Regions from separate parts of the Homo sapiens genome. Here region 1 is linked to region 2. The links are contacts of gene promoters, found by promoter capture Hi-C in blood cells and fetal thymus (Javierre and others, 2016). All regions are on one chromosome and are shown on one strand. Each heading gives the region's core, a stretch centred on a gene start or on the middle of the fragment in contact. The rest is flanking DNA. Distances are from core to core; before and after follow the strand shown.

Region 1 (4,377 bases), core at 521-3,020, 210 kb after region 2:
CCCATCTCTACTAAAAATACAAAAATTAGCCGGGCATGGTGGTGCGCACCTGTAATCCCAGCTACTCAGGAGGCTGAGACAGAAGAATCTCTTGAACCCGGGAGGCGGAGGTTGCAGTGAGTTGAGATCGTGCCACTGCACTCTAGCCTGGGCGACAGAGTGAGACTCCATCTCAAAAAAAAAAAAAAAAAAAAAAAAAGAAGCGAGACTCTGTCTCAATAAAAAACAAAAAACATACATTTGTTTACCTCAAGATGGTCAAACCAGTGCATAGACTCTCTCACTCGGCTCCTAGCTGCCCATTGGCTAGAAGTGTTTGACAGGCATGAAAACTCTACTGCTGTCTGATTTTAGTAATAGATGTTTATTTCACTTGGCTATTCAAAGGCAGTGTTTACTTGTAAGTACGTAGTTTACCCTAAGAACCACCATTTGCTCAGATAGAATCTTCACTTAAAAAATATTTTAAGTGCAGACTGTTTTACTACTGCCACATAATCTTGTCTTAATTTTTTTTCTTCATTTTCCTTAGATGAATTTTCCCCTCTACTCACAAAAGTTTGATCAAAATGATGGTTAACTGCTCTAGGCAAGCACAGTCTACATACTGCAGAAAATAAAGAGCAGCCAGATGTTTTCCTGAAAGGGGTGAGGTATATGTAAAAAAGAAAAAGAGAGAAATAATAGCAATAATAATAATAGGAAGAAGATGAAGACAAAGGAGAAGGAAAAGAAGAGGAGAAGGGGAAAGACAGGGAGGGAAAGGAGGAGGAGGAGAAGAAGAGGAAGTGGAAGAGGAAGAAGAGGAAGAGGAGGAGGGGAGGAGCAGAAGAGAGAATAGGAGAGGAATAAAAAAAGGCTGCTGCTTTTCATTATCATGACACAAAGAACTCCCTCAGAAGTTTGAGTTATTCACTTTTCAATGTGCTTAAGGTGGGACGAATACAGTAGAAAGCTAAAATGTTGGCACCCATTCAAAATAATAAGTATTATTCATTATCTGATGAACATATCTTTAAAAGAGTAGTTACTCCATCATCTTAGAAGTCAGATTAGCAACTGGTATGATCTGAATGTTGCTGTCCCCCTCCCCAGATTCATATGGTGAAATCCTAACCCCCAAGATGATAGTATTGGGAGGTAGGACCTTTGGGAGGCGATTAGGTTATGGGGGTGAAGCCTTCATGAATGGGATTAGTGCCCTTATAAAACAGGCTCCACAGACCTCCCTTGCCCTTTTTGCCATGTGAAGCTTCAGTAAGAAGAAGGCTATTTTAAGAGAAAGTGAGCTCTTATCAGACACTAAATCTGCCTTGATCTTGGACTTCTCAGCCTTCATAATGGTGAGGAATAAATTTCTTTTGTTTATAAGCTACCCAGTTTATGGTATTTTGTTATAGAAACCCAAACAGACTAAGTCTGATCATCTATTGCTGCCTGATGATGCCTTTTAAAAATCTTGAGATAAAGTCTCACTCTGTGGCCCAGGCTGGAATGCAATGGCATGATCACAGATCACTGTAGCCTTAACCTCCTGTGCTCAAGTGTTCCTCCCTCCTCAGCCTCCTGAGTACCTGGGACTACAGGCTAGTGTGACCATACCCAGCTAATTATTATTATTTTTTTTTATGGAGATGTGGGTCTCACTTTGTGCCCAGGCTGATCTCAAACATCTGGCCTCAAGCGATCCTCCTGCCTTGGCCTCCCAAAGTGCTGGGAGTACAGGCCTGCTGGGAGTACAGGCCTGAGCCATCACACCTGGCTCTGATGATACTTTTTCAAAGATATTCTAGTAAATAAGACTTTTTTTTCCCTCTATATCCTAACATTGACAGTTTTGGGGGGCTTCAATGATATTTTAGTGTGCCTTATCAAGTAATGCCATGGATAGCTGCTTGGCTGGCCCACCTCTTAATCCAGTTCCAGAAATTCCTTGCCCTCATTTTTTTTTTCACTTGGGAACTGAATAAGAAAATAAAAATGCAGACAATGTCTTCTGTTGCAGAATGGTTGATGGTGTTAAAAAGAAATTAATCACTGTCATTATTTTGTCTAAAAGAATAAAAACAGCATATTACCAGACATCCTCGGCATCTTCGTCACATTCTGCACCAAACTGGCAAATATCACAGGTGGATGTCTCCTTTTGACTAGTTTCTCCAGAGCCTTCATGGACTGTAGGACAGAAAAACAGTAAAAGGAATTCAGGTAATTGTGCATTATATCTACAACTCCAGGACAATTCTTTAATTAAAGCTGCTACTTTCCCAATGGACCTGTCTGCTATTGAAGCTTCATAAGAATGTCAAAAGCAACTCTTTTTTTTCCTCCAATTTAAAGACAACTCTAACAATAATATGTTTCCCATTGGTATGTGGTGAACACGTTTGCATTTTGCATGCTAAATAAAACAAAAAGCATGTGAGTTTATTGGATTCATCAAAATTATTTGCCTAATAGACCATATGAAAGAGTTATTTAGTTAAAAGGGAGTTAAATTTTCACCTCTCTGAGGGAGAGATCTACTGTCTATTTTACTGAAACATATTTAGCATTTTCTTATTTCCAGATTATGGACTTTTTCGTTCAAAGAAAGTTTTCATGTATAATTTTTAAAAATTTAGATGAGCATCCCTGATTTATTAGATAATGCCCCCATTTTTCCCCTCAAACTGTTAAGTACTTATAAGAAAAAGTATGTTGATTATAAGTTTTTAGAAAATAGTTTTTAGTTGTTTTTTACTGTCATTTACTGAATCTTACATAAGTATTGCATAGAGCTAATCACAGTGATTCATTGTTAGAGGGTTATGAACATATATTTTATTTTAAAAAAATACATTGAGTCACTGTTTAGTCACTGATAATGATGATTGATATTGGTCCTTTTTTCCTCTAAATTACAAGTGCAAAAATAGGCAATATATCACCTAATTATAAAGTTAGTCTTTCAAAATCAGGATACAACAGTGTAAATTGAGAAAAAATTTCTAGTATTTGAGTACAAGGAATGAGCAACACTTTCAAGGTGAATTACCTGTTTTCCCAGTTAAAAATATATAGTTGAAAGAAAAAGTAGTTTTATTTTAAAATGAAAAATTACAATCAACTAACTACCGCATAGATAATATAATTCCATACACAGATCATATACATTTAAAAACAGATGTTTAAATCAAGGGAACCTTTAAGAAGTGCACTTCTGCAAAAGAACATTTTCAACAGAAAAAGAACATAAGCAATTAATCCCAGCATTAGTTCCTGTCTTTATGAACATTTTAAACAACAAAGACAACTTATTAACATGCACCTTGAACCTGTCAAATCCAATCTTACTTATTTAGTTTTAATATGTTATTTTCTCTTCATTTCTTTTTTGTTTATTGACAAGTTTTTCATACTTATAAAATCAAAGATCTTTAGTTTTCTTTAGTTTACTGCTGTTCAGATGAGTAATTTGATTTACTCAAAAAAGGACAAGAAGACATCCCTAGGAGAGTTATCTGTTTTATAACTCTTCCAAGAAAGGTGGAGGGATTTATTTTTTCTAAAACATTTTTTTCCTGTGCTTGATAGTCAACGCTTACATTTTTAAAACAATATGAATTAAACAGGTCAATTTCAATTGCAAAAGTATTGATGGTATAGTTTTCAATTTGGATGTCTTAAAAAAAAAAAAAGGTGTCCTCCCCAAAAAGAAGAAGGAATTTTAGACTCTGATAAAATAGACAGCACTTATCTTATTATTCACTCTATTACTTTAATATAGGCAAGACCATTAGAGTGGACCATGGGGATAAGAGGGAAGCTGGGGCCTCATCTCAGGGGAGACCGAACAGCTGAGGTCGGTCTCTTTATTACTTTCTGATTATTAATGCAACACAGAAGCTGCTAATGGGAGAAAGCCTTTTAGTGTTAGCAAGATTAGCAACTTCCAGACTAAAGCTTCCCATTACTCAGGAAAGATAAGAACACAATGGCAAGGACCTTAATGAACAGTGATGGCCACTTAGAGACAGCCCCATTTTCTTCAGCAGTTGAGATCTTTGGTAAGGGATTGACTGGAGGTCATCCAGGGATAAATTTTGCTATCTCAGCAGGACTAATAATAATATTTCTACCAGAAGTCATATTACATTTCTATAAAAGGGCAATTATTGGTAAAATGGAGATGTTTGGAAATTCTCTGATAAGGAGAAGTAAATTCAAAAGAAGCAGTAGGAATACCCCCATCAATAAGTATTGTGTGAATAAAGTGCCTTTCTATGAAGTCACCCACAAAGAAATATAAAATAAAGTATTTCCATATTACTGGAAGCATTGGTTTGCACCTTTGTATAACAGTAAACAAACAAATGACTTAATCGGTGCACAACT
Region 2 (4,434 bases), core at 393-2,892:
GTGACTTTCCTCTACAAGATAAATACTTTTTTCCTCCTCCTTAACTGAGGGATGGGACAAGAGATAATTTGCCTGATTCATACTGGAAGCAGGAAAATTTCCTTTGGTGTCTCAGACTTAAACAGGTCTGTACATGTTTGGTTTTGTTTGGAGATCAGTATTTAATTTAGAAATGGCTTGAGAGCTGAGATTTCTAATATCTCTTAGGCTAATAAAGTAAGGATCTCATATGGCTTAAGAAAGGCCCAGTTACAGTATCTCTTTTCAATTCATCTGGTGCATGAAAAGCTACTGCATTTGCATTAAAAGCTGAAAAGTTTTCAGCTGCAAAAGCCTGCAAGGTAGAGGAGGACATAGGCTCCCTAAACCTTTACAATATTCAAGTGCAATTTGAGGAGGACAAAAAAGCAGCGAGATGAGTCTTTCCTTTTATGGGGGTAGGAAGGCTTCTAACTTGGCAGAGCAGATTCATTTTGAAAAAGAAGACTCCCTCGGTTTAAATCCCAATTTCTAAATCTCTCTTGGGAGATGAAGGCTTTCCCTGTGTGCCTTTCACAATCAAACTGTTGGTTATAGCCTCTCCCCTCCATGGCTTTGAAATCCTCTCCTATTCATATGGTCACAACGAGACAGCCCTGGAGCGAGGATGGCAATCGCTTCCTGGGCTCTGTGCTGGCTGGATTCCACTGGGCGGAAGGGCTTCCAGCATTAGGCAGGGCTGCCCTGGGATTCACAAATGCCCACCACTTGGCGGAACAAGAGCCCCACGCAATCTCCCTGTCCCCAGATAGCCTCTTGCTACATTAATTGCATCATTGATGCATTAAAAAAAATTAAGTGGCCTTTTTATTCTAAGGCAACCGTTTGAAGGAGAAACATTTAAGACTAGCCTTTGTGACTATAACTGATAACACTCCTTTTATTTTACTTAACAGTTGTGGTCTCTCTGAACAAGGAGAGGCACGTCTAGTGTGTTTGTACTCTCTTTTTCTAGTGCATTTGCTAGAAAAGAACTCCACAAGATTGCTTTGCCCCAAAAAAGTCTTAAAAGAACAAGGCTAACTCTAATGGAATCAATCCTCTATTTGATTGGTCCCCAAAACGTTGATAGCCTTTGTATAAAGGGATAGTTTGACTTTTTGGTTAAAAAAACCACAAAATACCTCACATGATCACTTCATTTCCACTAAGAGTTAATGAACAGCCACTGAATTAATTTGCCCTGTCCAGCTAACAGCTGCAGCCAGAGCCCTAAGCTCCTAATGCAAAGAGACAAATGAATTTGACTAGGGTGCACGCACCTGCACATCTTCCCAACCTGTACAGAGTGCATCCAGGTGCTCCCTGACAAATGACCCGGGGCCTACTAAGCCCGGGGACATCTTCTTTGGATTAGTCTGTAGTGACCTGGGAAATTCCCACCCCTGTGTGAAGATTTCACATTTGCTTTCCGCAGGCAGACAGGGGACAGTGCCTTGTATGTGTGATCCCTGACAGGCAGGACAAATGTAAAAATGGCTGTGAGAGCCAGGATGAGCGAGATCAAGAATGATAAGGAGTTCCAGCCCGCCTGTAAGGAGGCATAGGGGGAACTGACCTGGAAGATGAGCACTTTGAAATGGTTGCGTCGGAGGAGCTGGGCGTGGTTGTTCTCCAGCCGCTTCACCTGTGCGCACTGCCTATCCATGCGCTCTTTGACCGCGCGCGTGTGGGCGCTGACCTTGCGGGACTTCTCCAGCAGCTTGCTCACCGTGTTGCTGGTGGAGGCCTGGTACTTGGAGAGCTTGGTGAGGTCATTCTGGATGCCCTTCACGGAGCCCTCCAAACTGATCTGTCGCTGCTCCATCTTGTGCTGGTTCTCCTGCACAGCGTCTAGCATGTTCACCAGCTTGTCCAGGAGCGTGAGCACCGTGACTGCGTTCACCTGTGAGTTGTCCCGGATGGCCTCCTCTGTGTTCCCTAGGTTCAGGCTGGGGCTTGGTGTGGAGGAAGGCATCGGGCTGGGGCTCGAGGGCTTTTCCTGCCGCATGTCAGACCCAGGGTGCTGGAACTTTTCGGCCTGTGCAGCGTCCTCTCCCATGGCTAGGCAGGTGGGAACGTTCTTTCTCTCTGGGAGCTGCTTCTTGCTCGGGTGAGAAGTTGCGGTGGTGAGGGTGTAGGATGAGGCCCGCTGGTTGGAGCTCAGGGCACCAGTCTCCAGGACTGGCAGAGGTTCAGACAGGCAACAACTGGCTACGCTGATCAGGGGAACTGCATTCCAGCTGCTCTTAAAGGCCCTACTCCACCCAGTGGGAGGAGAAGTTTACAGAACTGAGAACCATTTAGGGTTCAGACGTATGCACACACTTCCTAACCGCGTTCTGGGCACAGGACACTTTGTTGCAGGTTTAGCTTTTCTTTCCTGTTCCCCTTCCCTTTCAATGTCATATTTCAATCATGACTTCATCTAGAGGCGGAGAAAAACATGCTAACTTGGCCCAGCTCCACAGCTTCCAATTGGCTAAAGCTGGTAAACTTTTCTCTGGCTGCTATGCTGCAGATGCAACAGGGTGCCTGTTTCTTTTTCCTGGATACAAGTTATTGTAACGGAAAGTATTGTTTGCATTTGCCCTAGAACTGACTGATGGGTTGCAGAACACCGGGTGTCCTACTGGGAGGCATAGAGTTTAAAGGGTACTGCAGCCAAGTTTGTATTATTAGTTTCTCATTTGCAAAGGAATGGGACTAACTCTGATAATGATAAGGAAAACAGCTCAGTTCTTATTACTCTTGCAGTTGCAGATACAAAATAAGTTAAAAGAGATTGAACTTCAGGGATATTTAAAAAAAGTAATACTGCTGTTATGACTGTTATGTAATATATGGAAACTTTTTGAATGACCACATTTAAAAAAATGATTGTTTTTTTCAAGAAGTGAGACTGAGGAAAAATAAAATGTGGTCTTTTTAAGAACCTACCGTGATGATTTGTTTTAACTAACTTTGAGTTGGTGAGGAGAGACTTTCTCAAATGCCCATCTCTGCAAGGCATTTATTGACACGTGCCCAGAAGTGTCTGTTGGCAGGCTGAGTTGGAGTTTCTCAAGTGGTTCTAATGTTTGACATTTTAAAATTCCTGCTCAGTGAAGTGGCACACCTGTTCTCAAATGTGGCCCTCCTCAGCTGAACCTTGGGATGTGGGGCTTATTTTCCTAAAATGGCTTTACATGCTTGAGTTGATTTTAAACGTATCCAGCCTTTGAAAGTGCTTTCAGCAGGAAGTTTGTAATAGGCCTTCTATGAACAATTTTGAGACGAACAAATGCCAGCTCATACCAGGTCAGGGATTGATAATGGAACAATGCCATTCGTCAATAGTAACACCTACATGTAAGCCAATCAATCAGCAGGCCATTGGTTATCACGTTGGTTGAATCTCTGCCTTCTGCTATATGCATGAAGCACTATCCAGAAGACATTGGCAAAGCATGACGGAGACCCTGCTCTCAATGAGTATAGCTGCCAGTTAGGAAGATGAACTAAAGATATTTACAGAGGCCTTCAATTTCTTCAGATAATTGGTGCCACCAAAACCCACTTAAAGCAAATGCTTTAAAAATAGAGACCAAAAAAGGTGAAAAGAAGGTTTGGTTGAGATGTTATCTTTTAAAAAAGTAAGAACATTATTAAAATTAATTTACCTTATATTTAATAAAATTTAGTTGGTCAAAAATGTGTTAAATATTAGAATAAAGGATGAATCAAGTGTTGATTTTAAGAAGCATAATTTTCTAACAAAATTATATGATATCATGACACGACGTCCTTTTACATTTGACTTTTGTGGGCAAATCATAGAGTGTCACTATTTCAAAAATATTTGAGGGCTTCATCAATTTTCCAAGAGCCTCTCTTAAATTTTGACATTCAAATCATTTCTTTTTGAAGCACTTATTGTGCCATCATCCATGTAGATTTGTTCTTCTTCAAATGTTAATGTTAACTATTCCAGCTGCAGATTCTCATTTGTCAGAGGAGTTGCCCATGATTCAAGGGCTTCTCTAACATTACCTTCATCAACTTCATGATTTCCTACATATTTTGCAAAATTTGCGATTTCACATTATAATCACTTCACCCTGATTTTGCATTGATTTGCGCTGATTTTGCATTGCATTGTTGGATATTGTATAATCAGCTAGATGAATAGAGACATTAAAGAGATGGGGTGTGAGGTGGTAAAAGGAAAGAGGCTAGTTGTTAAATAGAAAGAAAGGTTTGCGTGTGGGCTTATTTATTTTTAAAATATATATTTTGAATAACACAAGTAATATCAGTCATCTATTGCTGTGTAACATACCAGCATGAAACTCAGTGGCTTAAAATAACGTTTTATTTACTCATGATTCTGTGGTTGGCTAGTCAGGGCTCAACTAGAATGGATTATTTCTGCTA

Evidence for each region. The method cuts DNA at HindIII sites, captures the fragments that hold promoters and counts their contacts. A CHiCAGO score of 5 or more calls a contact.
Region 1: a fragment that was not itself captured here is called in contact with the fragment with the promoter of CAVIN2-AS1 in region 2 in 1 of 17 cell types (megakaryocytes); the score reaches 5.6 in megakaryocytes.

Annotation. Positions count from the first base shown.
Region 1 is chr2:192,055,601-192,059,977 of GRCh38, forward strand. TMEFF2 (transmembrane protein with EGF like and two follistatin like domains 2) reads right to left here. Exons shown (of 10, transcript NM_016192.4): 5 at 2,079-2,175. It overlaps CAVIN2-AS1 (CAVIN2 and TMEFF2 antisense RNA 1), which reads left to right. Exons shown (of 4, transcript NR_187184.1): 4 at 1-4,377. Among named protein-coding and RNA genes, the nearest start is that of TMEFF2, 140 kb to the right of the region's middle. The HindIII fragment of the contact is 1,040 bases long and covers 1,251-2,290 here.
Region 2 is chr2:191,844,846-191,849,279 of GRCh38, forward strand. CAVIN2-AS1 (CAVIN2 and TMEFF2 antisense RNA 1) reads left to right here and starts at 1,643. Exons shown (of 4, transcript NR_187184.1): 1 at 1,643-1,926. CAVIN2 (caveolae associated protein 2) reads right to left here and starts at 2,243. Exons shown (of 2, transcript NM_004657.6): 1 at 1,598-2,243. The coding sequence starts at 2,080. RefSeq lists an enhancer at 1,948-2,456. The HindIII fragment of the contact is 13,325 bases long and covers 1-4,434 here.